Regions from separate parts of the Homo sapiens genome. Here region 2 is linked to region 1. The links are contacts of gene promoters, found by promoter capture Hi-C in human tissues and cell types (Jung and others, 2019). All regions are on one chromosome and are shown on one strand. The core of a region is centred on a gene start or on the middle of the fragment in contact, and the rest is flanking DNA. Distances in the headings are between cores, read along the strand shown.

The links. The method cuts DNA at HindIII sites, captures the fragments that hold promoters and counts their contacts. A contact is called where the count stands out against the background at its distance.
Region 2: a fragment that was not itself captured here is called in contact with the fragment with the promoter of FOXD2 in region 1 in 2 of the 25 tissues and cell types used here (IMR-90 fibroblasts and neural progenitor cells).

The regions. Positions count from the first base shown.
Region 1 is chr1:47,436,718-47,439,360 of GRCh38, reverse strand. FOXD2 (forkhead box D2) reads right to left here and starts at 1,317. Exons shown (of 1, transcript NM_004474.4): 1 at 1-1,317. The coding sequence starts at 1,225. LINC01389 (long intergenic non-protein coding RNA 1389) reads left to right here and starts at 2,044. Exons shown (of 5, transcript NR_126355.1): 1 at 2,044-2,071. RefSeq lists silencers at 1,088-1,267, 1,298-2,197. The HindIII fragment of the contact is 12,527 bases long and covers 1-2,643 here.
Region 2 is chr1:47,397,351-47,399,993 of GRCh38, reverse strand. The region is part of intron 3 of LINC01389 (long intergenic non-protein coding RNA 1389); the gene reads left to right. Among named protein-coding and RNA genes, the nearest start is that of FOXE3, 18 kb to the left of the region's middle. The HindIII fragment of the contact is 5,957 bases long and covers 1-2,643 here.

The DNA.
Region 1 (2,643 bases), core at 68-2,567:
TCTGCCCTGCCCCGGCGCCCCCGCCGCCTGCACCACCGCCCGCGTCCGTCTTGAGGCCCTGGCGCAGAAGTGCGGTGGGCAGACCCGCCGCGGTGCCGGCTGCGGGAGGACTCAGGGACGCCGCGTAGAAGGCTTTGGCGCAGCCCAGCTCCGCGCCCAGGAAGGCGGGCAGGCCTGCGGGGCCCGGGCCCGGGCCCGAGCCTGAGGCAGGCGCAGGAGCTGGGGCCGATCCCGCGCCTGCGAACACCGAGGCCGTCGGAGGTCCGGGTGGAGGCGCGGCGGCGCGGCCTGGGGGTACCGACAGCTGGCAAGGAGCGGCGGCGGCTGCCGCGGCGAAAGCGAAGGCGTGCGGGTGCGGGTGCGGATGCGGGGCCGGCCCCGGCGGGGGTGCGCCGTAGGCCGGGAGAGCCAGCCCGTAGCCGTAGCCGTAGGCGCCGTAGGCAGCGAAGCCGGGCAGGAAAGCGCCGGGATCCCCCGCCGCCGCGGCCCCGCCACGCAGCAGCAGCTCCGGGTGAGGGTGCGGGTGTGGGTGCGGCGGCGGCAGGGGCTGCCGCTTGAAGCGCTTGCGACGCCGCAGGAAGCTGCCGTTGTCGAACATGTCGGCCGACTCCGGGTCCAGCGTCCAGTAGTTGCCCTTGCCCGGGTTGCCCGGCTCGCGGGGGATCTTGACGAAGCAGTCGTTGAGAGAGAGGTTGTGGCGGATGCTGTTCTGCCAGGCGGGGAACTTCTCCCGGTAGTAGGGGAAGCGGCCGCTGATGAACTCGCAGATCTCGCTCAACGTCAGCCGCTTCTTGGGGCTCTGCAGGATGGCCATGGTGATGAGCGCGATGTACGAGTAGGGCGGCTTCACCAGCGGGCTCCGCGTCGCCGCGCCCCCCGACGGCGGTCCCGGCCCGGGCCCCGCTGCGCCGCGGGCCGCCGCGGCGCCTGGCCCCGGGCTCCCCGCTGCGGCCGCCGCCCCCCGGGACGCCAGAGCGCGGGGCTCGCCGTCCGAGCAGCCACCAGACTCCTCCTCGTCCTCGGCTAAGTCTGCCTCGGCTTCCTCCGCGGGAGGCTCGTGGCCGTGGGGGAGCACGTCCCGGGGGGCGCGGGGCCCGGAGCGAGCTGGGAGCTCCCCCCCGCCGCTGCCGCCGCCCACCACGTCTATGTCTGCGTCGGCCTCGGACAGCGCGGCCGGGGAGCTCTCGGAGGACATGATCTCGCAGCAGCAGCTGCCCAGGGTCATGGTGCCGCTGCCGCCGCCGCCGCCACTCTCCGGCTCCGCTCCGGCAGCGGCTCGGGCTCGGCCGCGCTGCCTCTGGGGCGAGTGCGTTTTGCGCGCGGGCGGGGAGGGGGCGGGGGACTGAGGCAGGCAGGGAGGGGTGTCCCCCGGCTCCGCAGCGCCCCCTGGCGGCCCAGCTCGGCCGCGCTCACCTTCCAGGGCACGACCCGCCGGCGGCCCCCGCCACTACCCCGGGAATCCGAGCTGGGACCCGCCGCTGGGGCGCAACGGAAGGAGCTGAGGCTTTCCCTTACCTGGGCGGGCCTCAGCCCCTAGTCCCCTCGGGGTGGCAGTGGTTGGTGGTGGGGGATTGTCCCTCCCGCCTAGCGGCTGCCTAAGGCGGAAGAGCTGCGGGCTAGGGCGGAGCTCCCTGGGCGGGGTGGGGCGAGGCGACAGGGGCGGGCGTAGCGCCTCCGCTGAGGGACCCGGCGGGAACAAACCGCCGCCGCGGCGGGAGCTGGGCTCGAGTGGCCGGAGGCGGGCCCTTGTCTTCGCCGCCGCTCCTGCACCCTGTGCTCCCTGAAGCCGCCGCCTTCAGAACGCTCAGCCCCTGGATGTTAAGGCTCACTCGGGCGCCAGCCGCAGCCAGGGAAGTGGCGGCGGTCCCCACCCGTCCTCTCCCCAAGGCGGCGCCCGGGCCACCGGGCCGAAGCGCAGTGGGAGCGCGAGGCTGAGACGCCGGGACCCACGCCGCCCCAGCGCGGCCCGCCGGCGCCCACCCGAGCCCGCACGGCTTCCAGCCCGAGGGGAGACGCATTCGAGTGATCACCAGGAGCGAACTTGGCGCCCGCAGCCTTGGGCCTGGGAGAGGTGAGATTGCGGCGGCGCCCTCTCCTCCCTCCGCTGTCGGGCCCGCCACCCCTCTCCGCGCGGAGAGGCCGGGCAGAGCGCCGGCCGCTGTGGCCGCGTTCCCGGGGCGCGGGCCGGTCTACTGCTCCGAGTTTGCCTGTTCTCCGACCCTCTGGATCTCGGCATCCGTTTGTCTCAGTCTCTGTGACTATCTCACTCTCCGTGAGTCTCTGTGGAAACGGCATTTGTCTGGATGTCTGTTCATGGGTCTGGGAATCCGCTTAATTTCTCCCTCCCCTCTCCCTGGCCCCAGTTGCCCTGAGGACTGGACACCCCCCACCTTCCTGGCTCCCAGGGTTCTGGGCCCCACCGACAGGCGGCAGGACCTCCTCCGCCCCCTGCCCGACACCCCCTCAGTGAACCCTGACCTCCACCAAGTGTTGCCTTCATCTCTCAAAAGTCTTGTGCAACTAAGGTTGGCCCTGTGCCTTGTTTCTCGCTAGCCGGGTTCCTGCCCATCCTATTAGACCTCTTTCTCCCCCGGCCTCCCTCCAGGACCCAGAAACAAGCAGCTTCAACACAGATTGGGCCCA
Region 2 (2,643 bases), core at 85-2,584, 39 kb after region 1:
CAAAGGGGTAATTAAGTGGAGGAATCAGCCACCATTTTCATTTCTCATTAAGTGATTAGGGTTTGTTTGGCAAATCCTAGCATCTGTGGCTAGAGGCAGGCTCTGCTGAGCTTGACTTGGACCATTCACTGCCTACACACAAGCTAAGCATCCAGCACCTCCCTTCTGCCCTGGCTTCTCCTAACCTGAATGAATTAGAAGGAATCCTTTCATTGTGCAGATGAGGAAACTGAGGCACAGAATGCGAAACTGACTCAGCAATATTATACCACACTAGAGCCAGGTTCTGCCTCCCAGAGCAGAACTCTAGTCAGCACACCATGCTGTCTATCTAAAGAAGGAGCTTTCAATAGACTTGTTGCCACTGAGGCAGCTTTGCTTCTGGAAGTAGGGAAGGCTCCTTCTTGAGCCTTGGATCATTTTCTCACCTAACTCTTTTTTCTCCTAGAGCCACCACATCAACAAGTATGGCAGACACTGTTGGTTGTCCACCCAACAATCATTTCCCTCTTCCTTTTCCTTTGCCCATTTCTCTTGGTTAGGAGAGGGTACAACCCAATTCTGGCCAATGAGATATGCAGAGATAATACTGGGGGACTTCTGGGTTAAGATTTTCCTCCCTCTTAAAGTCACTCAAGGAGAAAGCCTTTGCTCTGTACTCACTTCTGCTTTTAGATATGGTTGTTTGAAGTGATGCTTGGAGGCCAGGTGCAGTGGCTTATGCTTGTAATCCCAGCACTTTGGGAGGCCGAGGTGGGTGCATCACCTGAGGTCAGGCGTTCAAGACCAGCCTGATCAACATGGTGAAACCCCATCTCTACTAAAAATACAAAATTAGCCGGGTGTGGTGGCAGGTGCCTATAGTCCCAGCTACTCGGGAAGCTGAGATAGGAGAATCACTTGAACCTGGGAGGCGGAGGTTGCAGTGAGCTGAGATTGTGCCACTGCACTCCAGCCTGGGCAACAGAGTGAGACTCTGTCTCAAAAAAAAAAAAAAAAAAGAAAGAAAGAAAAAAAAAGAAATGATGCTTGGAGCTGAAGCAGCCATCTTGTAACTTGAGGCAACAGGCTAGAAGAAGAAAGCCAATTGTTTTAATTATCTATTACTGCTTTACAAATCACCCCCAAAATTTGGTACCTTAAAACAATTTATTATTATCTTTCACTGTTCTGTGGGTTGACTGGGCTCAACTGGACGGGTCCTACATGAGGGCTGTCATGTTCTTGCAGCCTGACCAAGACTTATTTAAAGACTCTGCTGGGCTGGATGTCCAAGATGGCTCACGCACATTGCTGGCAGTTGATGCTGGATATCCCCTAGGAGTTCATCCAGAGCTCTTGACCAGGGCACCGCCTTATGGCTCAGGTGTCTCACAGCATGGCAGCTGGTTTTCAAGGGCAAGTGTTTTCAGACTGAGACTTTTAAGAAGCCCAGACAGTTGCTGCAAGACTTATGACCTAACCTTGAAAGTTCGAAATGTCATTTCCTCCACCTTCTATTGGTTAAGCTAGTCACTAAGGCTAGCCCAGATTCAAAGGAAAGAGAATTAGACTGTACCTGTTGATGAGGGAATGGCAAGGTCACACTGCGGAAGAGCAAGTGGCGTGGGAGATATTGTTGTGTCCAAGTATTACATTGGGTAAGTACAATCTGCCATGCCTATATCCTTGGGATAATGATATAGTAAGATGGAAAGAGCTGTTACCTCTAAGTTACTGCACCATCTCTAGAAGGACTTCTTGTTAAGTAAACAAATAATATCCTAAAGGTTTAAGCCAGCCGGGGGTGGTGGCTCATGCCTGGAATCCCAGCACTTTGGGAGGCCGAGGCGAGCAGATCACGAGGTCAGGAGATCAAGACCATCCTGGCTAACATGATGGAACCCCATCTCTACTAAAAATACAAAAAATTAGCCAGGCGTGGTGGCAGGCGCCTGTAGTCCCAGCTACTTGGGAGGCTGAGGCAGGAGAATGGCGGGAACCCGGGAGGCAGAGCTTGCAGTGAACCAAGATCGCACCACTGCACTCCAGCCCGGGCGACAGAGCGAGACTCTGTCTCAAAAATAAAAAAAAAATGTTTAAGCCATTGGAGTTCGGTTTTCTGTGAAAGTTTGGTGCGGGAGCCAAACATGATTGGAGAAGGCCTTCTGGAGGAGGCAGGACTTAAACTGCACATTTCAAGACCGTTTCACATTCTTAGACTTGGACATCAGATACTCCTAGGTTTGAGCTCTATTTCTGCAATTATGACTATCTGTGTGGCTCTGAGTAAGTTAGCCTCTCTGAGCTTCAGTTTCCTCATTTGTAAAATAAGGATAATAGTACCTGCCTGTGATGTCATTCAGATGATTAAATGAGGTGATACATAGTAAAAGCTTAGCATGAGGTCTGACATATAAGTGATCTGCAAATGTCATTTATCATTATTTTATCACGTTATTAATTGAGATGAGGAAGAGGAGTCCAATGAGGTCATTGTTGGAATATTGAGGGGAGGTGTCAGGAAAGCACTTTGTGAGGGACACAGCAACCCCAGCTCCCATTTATGGGGCTACAGGCAGAGCTGGGGGACCGGTGAGGGAGGCTGTAGAAGGGCTTCTGCCCTGGGAGAAGCTGGACTGTCCTTTACAGCTCAGTGATGGG